Linked DNA regions of Homo sapiens: all the other regions are linked to region 1. The links are contacts of gene promoters, found by promoter capture Hi-C in blood cells and fetal thymus (Javierre and others, 2016). All regions are on one chromosome and are shown on one strand. The core of a region is centred on a gene start or on the middle of the fragment in contact, and the rest is flanking DNA. Distances in the headings are between cores, read along the strand shown.

Region 1 (3,153 bases), core at 623-3,122:
ATTTGTTTTATTGTTTCATGCACAATGGAGATTGCCAAGGAAATCAGGGGAATGAGGCAAGGACTTCTATTTGGTATTCCCAGGCCAGGCGCACAGATGGAATCAGAGGTCAGAAGAGGAATTCTTGTGAGAGGGCAGATTTCTGGATTCTAGGTCGGAGGAATCTTCCAGGACAGAGTTTGAAATCTTTACTAAAATGTCCCAGCAACACAGTCAGTCCCAAGGAAGATGAAGTTGCCCCTTTCATGCCTCTAAATCTGCTCTTTTAGGCACAGGGTCCACTTCAGCAGCAGCCTCCAGAGTGCTGGCCACTGCCCCCTCCGCAGCAGCTGGAGCCCGCTGAGGGCTGGCTGCAGCAGTCAGAGCTCTGGGGTCTGTGGCGGTGGGACCTACGCCGTCTGTGGTGGCTCAGGCAACAGCCGCCTCCCCCAGAGCTGCAGCAGCCACCACCCCCAGAGCTGCAGCAGCCCCCAGAGCTGGAGCCACAGCAGCCTCCGGAGCTGACGCTGCAGCAGGAAGAGACAGGAGGGCACTTAGGGGGACACTTTGGGGGGCACTTCGGTGTGGGGCACTTGGGAGGGCACTTGGGAGTGCACTTGGGAGGGGGCTGGCACTGCTGCTGGCTCTGCTGGCAAGACATCTCGGTGGCGGGTGTTCAGGAGCTGAAGGAGGGTCAGACAGCAAGTTAGATGGAGGCAGAGGACACCCCTGCCTATTCTTGTCCTTTCTGCATTATTTCTAGATCCTTCATTTTGAAAGCCTTATATCAAACATAGGAAAATCACCTCTAATGTTTTTATCACTCTCAATGTTTACCAAGTGCTTTCATTCATGGATTCTCATTTCAAACCTTATTTGAGATGTTGTCATGCAATATATAATCTCCAAATATGTAAATAAAGTTTCTGCTCATTAAAAGCTCCTAAGTGTGGGAGAGAAGTCCAGGAAATAAATTGGCTCCGGGCCAGCATTCATTCTATCACATCACCAAGAATTCTGAAAATGTTCAATGTTGAGACCAGTTTAGAGATGAAAATCTCTTTAAGGAAAAATCAAAATAAATTTCTATTGGAAGAACTGATATATTTCAGTTTGCAGAAATAGAGAAAACTATAACCGCAAAGGATGTTGGAGTCAATTTGTTCCAACCAACTCAATATATAAATAAAGAAACTGAAGCCAAAAGAGGTAACTTCACTGGCCCAAAGTTATTCATTAACAGTCACATTTGTTCCGGGGTCCCCTGGTTCCCATCCTGGGCTCTGCCCTTTAGCACATCCTGCCTCCCCAGGCCTGTCCCCAGGCACTGTCACATGGCTTTTAAACTCCAGTGTGCACTCAGTTTTCCACTACAGATCTTCTTGTTGGCATCTAACAAGATCCACAGGTGTCTTTGATCCTTTCTTCCTCTAAGTAGCAGTGTTCTCAGCATATCTTTTCTAAAAGTGAGTATGTCTGTATTTCCAAAATTATATTCCCACTATGCAGCCCACTCTAGCAACATCCAGTGGCCAATGTGTTTATTCTCTAAAACCAGAGAAACACACTGAGCAACTGAAAACAATTTGGTTCCTCTAAATCTGTGTCATACAGCCCTTCAGATCTTACCAGTTCTTCTTAATCTCTCTCACTCCACCCCACCCCTCTACCTCCTCTTTCCAATTTTCTGCCCCCACCCCATTCCTTGCCAATCACAATTCCAGGCCCCTGAGGCCCTGCCTAGACTCTACTCCTGCCCTGGTCTGAGTATCCATCCCCTCCTTCCCTGGCCTGGGCATCCCTCTGTGGAAGCCCCTGCTCCTTTTTCCAGGGCACACTTACCAGGATCACAGGCAGCACAGGGTTCTTCAGCACCGCAGGAGGTGAGTGGATGGGATGCTCTGGCCCTGAGCCCTTTTATTCTGTCCTTGGGTGCTGCCTCCAGCGGTGAGACAGAGCCTGGGCATGAGAGGACCTGCCTCCCGACACCCACATAGGTCTTGTGACGAGTGGTGACTGGCAGTTCTGCATATACCGTCCTTCATTGGTGTTCAGGGGAGCTGCTGTCAGCTAGGAAAGAGCTTGGTGGAAATGGGGGCTTGTGGTGGGTGAAAATGGACATCATGGTTCCTGGAGTCCTCCGTGGCCTATTTCCTATGAAGATGGCTCTCTTCACAGTCTTGTAGTCACACTTATGAATTCTGCACAAACAACTCATTTTTCCTTCTATTCTAGATACTAATTTTCCATCTAGACCTTTGGGTCCATATAGCTTGGTTAAAAATCCACATGCCTGCATTATGGGGTTTGTCCATGTGCACATGGGCATGTGTGTGCATCATAGAAGTCGAGAAAAGAGGCCTTGGAGACCCTGGCAAAGTATTCAATATTTTTGGCCATTGGCTTTCTGATGTTTTAAATGAAGATAATAAGAGAAATATCTTTTCTGCAGGATTTACAAATTAATTAAGATAACAAAGGGGAAGTAGCTGAGATAGTATGTGGCATGTGGTTATAATTAGGAAATGGATGAATAGGTAGATAGATAGATAGATAGATAGATAGATAGATAGATAGAAAGAAAAATAGAGGCAAACCTGAGATTTTAATGGACATTGGGAATTTTTAAAGTCACAGGTGCCTTTTAAGTTAGGTGGCTCTTATTAAAACTAAAGGCCATTTTTTTTTCCTCCTACGTACCTCAGTGAATAGGGCTTTCTGAAGGTAGATCCAGAGTGGGTATAAGAAAAGAGGACTAAAGGATGTATATTGCCCCAAATTATAGCATAAAAGAATTTGCAGTTTCCTGAGGAAAAGCTGAAGGGATGAGGTAAAATAAAGATGAGAAGGGTGAAGAGAAGAGAACAGCCAATGAGGTGGCTTTGAACTGTGACTTGGAGTGGTGTAGTTGGTATAGACAAGAATAGACATAGTCAATATTTAATTTGAAATTATTGGCTTTGTTGCAATACACATTTCCTGGGTTTAATTTCCCAGTTTCCCATGCTCAAAACTAACCAAATGCAAAATCTAACAATAAAAAACCAATATTTGAAAAATAAATATGGTCAAAATTACATATAACATCAAAGAATTATTGGATGGTTTTAGCAGATTATAAGTTGCAGAAGAACAGATCGGTGAACTTGAAGAAATTGTTCAAACTGAACTGAA
Region 2 (3,303 bases), core at 118-2,617, 100 kb after region 1:
GAAAATTACTCTGAGGCCCTGACCTTTGGAGGACATTTGAAATCTCAGAAGAGAAGAGAATGACCAAGACATTTAGTGAGTCAGAGATCAGAGCTTTATTATAACATGAGGTAAAGGAGGAAAAGAAGACTTGCAATTGGGGTGTTACATCAAGCACGAAGTTCTTCCAGGAAAGCCCCATGAGTCTTTGTGGTCTCTGCCAACCAATGAATGGAATGAGAGGAAGTGGAAAGAGTATCCATCAGGCCGTAGCAGGTTCTTGGCCATTCAGTCCCAAGAGCTCTTCTGTAGCCCAGGTCAGCAGCAGCCCCCAGAGCTGTGGCAGCAGCCAGAGCCCCCAGAAGGTTCACTCTCACAGCAGTCGGGGCTCTGGTGCCGGCGCCGGTGGAAGAGACGGGGCCTGTGGTGGCTCAGGGAGCAGCCACCAGCCCCAGAGCTGCAGCAGCCCCCAGAGCTGGGACCACAGCAGCTCCCAGAGCTGGGACCACAGCAAGAAGAGACTGCAGGGAAACATGGAGCTGGGCACTGTGGTGGGCATTTGGGGGGACACTTAGGTGGACATTTTGGGGTACACTTGGGAGGACACTTGGGAGGGGGCTGGCACTGCTGCTGGTTTTGCTGGCAAGACATGCTGGCAGGAGTTTAGTCAACCTGAAAGATAATAATGAAACTCTTTAAATATTTCAAACCAAGGATCATATTATACCTCTTCTAAAATCAATGCATGTGTAGAAGAAGAATGATATTTAGATAATACAATCACATCAGTAACCTGAAAGAAACAACTTGAATCTTTCCTCTAGATAAAAGTACGTAGATAAAAAATCAACAGAATGAGCTTCTTACTCTTCCTTTCAGGGGAAACTGCGATTGCTCTATCCTCACAAGCCCGAATAGAGTATTCACAGCTCCCTGAAGTACCTATTCCTTTAATACAAGCCCTAAGGACAAGCTGGGTGTTGCAGGACATACCAAGGGGTCCTCTGGAAAATATTTTGCAATGAAACCTCCAGATAAAAGAGCCTGGCTTGAAGTATTTGCCAGTTTCCATGGTGTAAATATGCCCAACACAGCAGTTTTGAAGTTACCAACATGAAGTCACTGAACACAGAATTGGAAAAGATGTGCACAGTTAGCTTTCCCCACCTATATGAGCTCCGGTAGGCCTCAGAGCCTCAACAGATTCGAGGCAGGCTGAGTCCCATTCCTGCTCAGTATGGCAGAACACAAGCACACAACTCTTTCTCCAGCCTACCTCCATCCTCCCCATCCCTCTGCCTTGCTCATACCCCTCTGGTATCCCAGGTTGCCACTCACCCTGGTCACACGCAGGAGCACAGACACGTCCCTGGGGAGTCAGAGCAGATGAGATGCTGAAGCTGGATGTGTCTTTTATAGGGCCCAGGCTTGGCTCTGGAAAGAGCAGGAGGTGGCTCTTGCACAACCAGGCACACGCTGGGTCATTCCTGACATTCTCCTGCCTCTTAGTCCCTGCAATCCAAAGAGGCCTCAGGAGCTTCCAGGACTCCTCTCTGGGGCTGCAGTCTAGAGAGGCTGTAGCCAGTCAGAGCCTCCACCAGGTGGGAACCCTAAAGAGTTAACTTAGGGTACCCAAGGGACCCACACCTGGACAAGATTCTGTTCCCTGCATTTTTTTAATGCATGTCCTCTGAGGAAACATCAGTTCTGAGCCACAGCTTTCCCTGACCTTGTGGAAATGTTCCATTATGACTCCCTCCACCCTGAGCAGTTTCTCTTCCATGTCCTGCTGTGGATCCAGCCATCCCAGAGGGCTTCTACAGCCTTGGCTTTTTCTAGGCATCCCTCCCTTGCCTAGGCTCTCAGCCCTTCCTCCTGGCCTCTGTGTTTCTGCTTTTCCTCCGACTCACCATGGCAAGCAGATTCGGTGGATTAAATCTGAGTTGATTCTGTCACCTAAAGCAAGGAGAATGATTGAGAATAAACAATTCCCTCTAAAATCTAAACATTTCCTTCAGTCAGAGGACTTGTATTGAATGTGCTACTGGAATCAGAAAACTTGCATATGATAACTGGGTAATCTCTGAAAGTTGCTGTAACAATTATCAATAATTGCTAGAGTATTACTATGATACTCACTGTGAGTATCAGTTCTCACATATAATGCCCATTATAAACCTATCAGTGAGATATACCTATCTCACTGAGCTGTTTGTAATATAAAGTGAGAAGCAAGAAAGAGCTAAGTATGACATTTTGTGCCTGATAGACCCTTAATAAATATATGTTTAATAGAAAAACTAATGCCATGTATTGGATACTTGCCCCGGTCTTATGTGTCATTAATTGCCCATATAGAGCCCTTACCCTCAGAGAGCTTAACTCCACCAGACACTTAGATTATTTGAAACCTGTCTTGGGAAGTAGACATCATTTCTTGGGGCTCCTATGCAGAGGGAACTCCTTTCCTACCAGGAAGTAGAGGGTCAGCCAGGAATCTAGTTATTCAGAGTTCTGATTCAGGGTTGCACTAGACAGAGTTACCCAGTCATTTATTCATTTAGTTTAAACAGATACATTGAGTGTGAACCTTGAAAACATTACACTACGTGAAAGAAGCCAGTCACAAAAGACTGCATATTGTATGATGTTATTTATATGAAATGTGTAGAGTAGGCAAATCTCTGGAAATAGAAAGGGGATGAGGCTTTAGCCAGTTACAGCCTCTCCCAGGCTGGACCCCTGAAGAGCTGACTCAGGGCATCCGAGGAACAAGAGCCTGGATGAGATTCTGTTCCCTGTATCTCCTTTTATGTTTATGCCTGTCCTCTGAGAAATATCAGTGGCTTCCAGGTGCTTTAGCGGGCTGGGAGATATTGAGAAGTTACTGCCAATGGATACAGGTTTTCTTTGTGAAGTAATGAAAATGTTCTAAAATTATGGTGGTGATTGTCCAACTCTGTGAATATACTGAAAACCATTGAATTTACACTTTAAACAAATGAACTACAAATATGTTAATTACATCTCAATAAAGGTGTTAAAAATTAGAATTGAAAAAAATAGATATTCACACCTCTGATTAAAACAGAAACAGACTGTGCCTTCACATTGCCTAATGCCTACTTAGTGGGGGAGGGGAGGATGCGGAGAAAGCATAGTTTCCCATTGTCAGCTTCTAACTGAGGGATTCTGTTCTCCTAGTTATGCAATCCTATTATCAGATCTGATTCCTGCTCTCAGGAAGCTTTTACCTGAAGGATAAAGTAAGTCAACAGTGTGGTCAGAGCAGTGAATTCAAAAGGCATTCTTTGAAAGCCTACA
Region 3 (3,575 bases), core at 925-3,424, 120 kb after region 1:
TGAGCCTGTAGCAGAGACATGGGGGCCCTCAAGTGCACACCTAGTTTTCCCCTAAGGTATTTGACAAGTTCAGGGATATGTAGGACAATAAGCTAAAACCTAAGTGGGAAGTCTCTAGAACGCTGCAAAGCTTTTTATGGTTGATGAGACTAAGATTAGAGTTCAGGAATATATCTGTTAACTATGGCCTCAATTATAGTGCACAACGACAACGTAATAAACAAAATGCATAGAACAATTATTTATTTAGCTTGTGAGAGTGCAGGTCTTCAGGGTGATGGAGGTCAAATGTGACCTAGGCTGGGCTCAGCTGGGTGGTTCAGCTCTGCTCCACGGGTCTTTCATTCCTCCTTTTGGGTCCTGTAGGCTATCTTGGACATGTTTTCCTTGTGGGCATGGGATACCATCACTGCTCCGTTATTCTATTGACCAAAGAAAGCCAGAAGGCCAAACTCGAGGTCAAGGGATTAGGAAATATATTTTGCTCCTCAGTGAGGGGAACTGCAAAGTCACAATGCATAAGGGCATGAATACTGGCAACAATGCAATCTATCTCTACCATGGGAAACCAAGGGAGGGGAGGCATCACCAAATACTTCAGGCAAATTCTAGATTTATTGAAGACTTGAAAGGAGAAGAAAAGCGTATATCTTTATTCAGAAAAAATAAAAGCAAATATATATTATGTTATCTGAGTGAAAAAATAATTTAAATATTTAAAATTGAGGAAAACATAAATGTGTATACCCAGAAAACAATGAAATAAAATGAGATGGCACACAATATGAAAAATTTTACCATAAATAAAGCAAAAATGTATATGAGTGAAAACTAATTGTGAACAAATGAACTTTGATGTGTATGCATAGTTAGTCTAAATGAAGAATGGAAATGAGCAATATAAGTCCTCTGTTAAGATTCTTAAAATATAAAGAGCATACTTCAGGGGAAATTTTGGCAGTCAACATGCATGTACTACCTAGATTATCTCTTGTCCCTTTTTACTGCTCTTGTGCACACTGCCCACCCCAACCCCCACCTTCTGTTGTTTTCTCACCTTCAACAGCCAGTACCTGCAGCTCTTCATCAGTATCTAGGCTGCCCTTGAGTTCTGGAGCCACTTTGCCCATACATGCAGAGAGCTGGAAGTACTAGGGATGTCCAGGTGGGCAGGTTCTAAATTCCCTTAGTTTTCTCCCATCTGAGAATGTCTCTATATCACCTTCATTGTTGAAAGACAGAAAATTATTTGCTGCATGTAAATATCTGGTTGACAATTGTCATTTTTGTTGTTTTCCTTCAGTACTTTAAAAATGATAAGCTACTTTCTTCTGGCCTCTGTGATTTCTGATAAGAAATCTGCAATGATTTGAATCTTTGCTCCTGTTTTAGTGATGCATCATTTTTTCTGGCTGTTTTCAAGATTACTCCTGTGTCTTTAGTTTTCAGCTGATGTTATCAGGGTTTTTTGAGCTTAGCTTGGGATCACTCTTGGTGATTTCATGAGTTTTGGGTTCACTCTGATTCTTGAAACTGTATGTTTATTTCTTTTACTAAACTTGAAAAGTTTCAACTATTATTTCTTCACACATTTTTTTCAGTTCTACACTCATTCTTCTGTCTTTCTGGGATTTCAATGACATAAATGATAGATTTTGTTATTGTCTCACAGATCCCTGATGCTCTGCTAATTTCTTGTTTGTTTTTCTCTCTGTTGTTTAGATTAGATTATTTCTCCTGATCCATTTTCAAGTCTACTGACTCTTTCTTTGTCATCTCCTTCTGCTATTAAATTTATCCAGTGGCTTTTTGAAAATTTAATTATTGCATTTTTTAGTGTTAACATTTCTATTTGGTTCTTCTTTATATTATTATCTTTGCTGAGACTTTTTATTTTAACATTATTTCAATAGTGTTTATAATTGCTCATTTGAGCATTCATATAATAGCTGCTTTAAAGTCTTTGCCAGATAATTTCAATATTTGTGTTATCTGAGCATTGGTTTCTGTTTATTGTTTCTTCCTATGCGAGTGACATTTTCGTGGTTCTTCTTTTGTAAAGTAATTGTTTGTATGCTGGATATTTTTAACATTCTAAACAAGACTCTGGATCTTGTTTAAATTTGATGGAAAATGTTGATGTTTTCATTTTAATGGGCAACCTTCCATGTAAAACTATTCCAATTATCAATTAAGTTTTTGAGGTTTTTGTAGTGCTGTTCATAACTGTCCAGAGTGAGTGCCAACCAGCATCAGCCTGAGATCTGGGAAGTAGAACCTCTATTAATAAGTTATCACTTTTTTGTCTGCTAATGAGGATCAGAGCCTTGCACGTGTGTCCTCACAGCAAACTCTGGAATTCATAAACAATTTTATGGGGTCTCTTTCCTGAGCTTCTGTCTCTCTCTCTGCAATCTCCTCAGTACTTTCAGGTTCAGCGAGGCTCACCTTCATGGTCTTCTTGCCAGAAATTGAGCCTCTAGTTACCCTTCTCTCCACACATTTATATGACTAGGCCCATGTCTAGGACCAAGAATTGGGAAGACAGTGAGAGAAAGAAAGCAATAGGGGTTGGCCCCACCCTTTTGGGATTACAGCTCCATGAAATGGAGAAGTAGTTCCTCTTCTCACATTTTATACTCCTGCTAGCTCCCTTATCAGCTGTTGTCACTGCCATCCACCATGGAGTTGCCTGAGATATGGGGTATGAAAGAACAAGGAGATTGAAATGGGGGACTTCCACATCTTCTATGGGCTTACCCTTTTGCTCCTCAAGCCAGAACTAGCTGACTTCTTCAAAAACTCTGTATGTGCCCCCACAGCTCTCATTTCCAGGTTTCCACCTGCATTAAGTTCAGGCCAGGAGAAACCAAAGGAGGAAAAGTGAAGCTATGCACCTTTTCAGTTCTACTTTTTTAATTCTCATGTCCTTCCCCTATCTGTCTGCTGCTATTTCTAGCTCCCAACTAGCTAGTTCCTGTCAGTCTTCCCAGGTTTTATAGTTGCATTGAGTGGAAGAAAGAGAATTTTACTCCATACATAGATAAAAGTCTCTGAATTATAATGTGAAGTATTTATTCTAATTCATTGTCTTTCTTTCCTTCTTCAGGTATACAAATTATATGTAAGTTAGATCTCCATTGTCTGTCTTCTATATTCATTACCTTCTGTCTTATCCTTTAGGGGTTTTTGTTGTTGTTATTCTTTTATATTTTCTAACTTGTGTGTCCCTTACTGTACATTTAGTTGTATTTATTATTCCTTGGATATCTCATAAGGAGTTTTGTATTTTGATTCAATTTCTTTTTTCTTGTCTTTTGATTCAACTTCTTTTCATATTCAGTATATTTATAATACTTTTTTTAAAAAAGTATTGGTCAGGGGCAAAAAGTGCTGATGAATTAAGAATTTACTTCATAGAACATCAAAGAATCTTATGTATTCATTTTAAACAATGGTGAATTATTTCTAATACCTCTGATGTTAGTGGAATCTTTTTAAATGCTTGTGACTTTATGTTTTTATCATTTAGGCCTGTGAATTCATATTCTGCTGGGGAGTATTAGAGATTCTGA

Evidence for each region. The method cuts DNA at HindIII sites, captures the fragments that hold promoters and counts their contacts. A CHiCAGO score of 5 or more calls a contact.
Region 2: a contact is called between the fragment with the promoter of LCE2C here and the fragment with the promoter of LCE1F in region 1, in 17 of 17 cell types (non-activated CD4 T cells, fetal thymus, neutrophils and 14 more). The highest score is 17.7, in non-activated CD4 T cells.
Region 3: a contact is called between a fragment that was not itself captured here and the fragment with the promoter of LCE1F in region 1, in 1 of 17 cell types (M2 macrophages). The highest score is 6.7, in M2 macrophages.

Annotation. Positions count from the first base shown.
Region 1 is chr1:152,773,859-152,777,011 of GRCh38, reverse strand. It overlaps LCE1F (late cornified envelope 1F), which reads right to left and starts at 1,872. Exons shown (of 2, transcript NM_178354.3): 1 at 1,822-1,872; 2 at 1-662. The coding sequence starts at 640. The coding sequence ends at 284. The HindIII fragment of the contact is 9,364 bases long and covers 1-3,153 here.
Region 2 is chr1:152,673,343-152,676,645 of GRCh38, reverse strand. LCE2C (late cornified envelope 2C) reads right to left here and starts at 1,367. Exons shown (of 2, transcript NM_178429.5): 1 at 1,318-1,367; 2 at 77-651. The coding sequence starts at 630. The coding sequence ends at 298. The HindIII fragment of the contact is 8,836 bases long and covers 1-3,228 here.
Region 3 is chr1:152,649,233-152,652,807 of GRCh38, reverse strand. No RefSeq gene overlaps it. Among named protein-coding and RNA genes, the nearest start is that of LINC00302, 4.5 kb to the left of the region's middle. The HindIII fragment of the contact is 4,084 bases long and covers 133-3,575 here.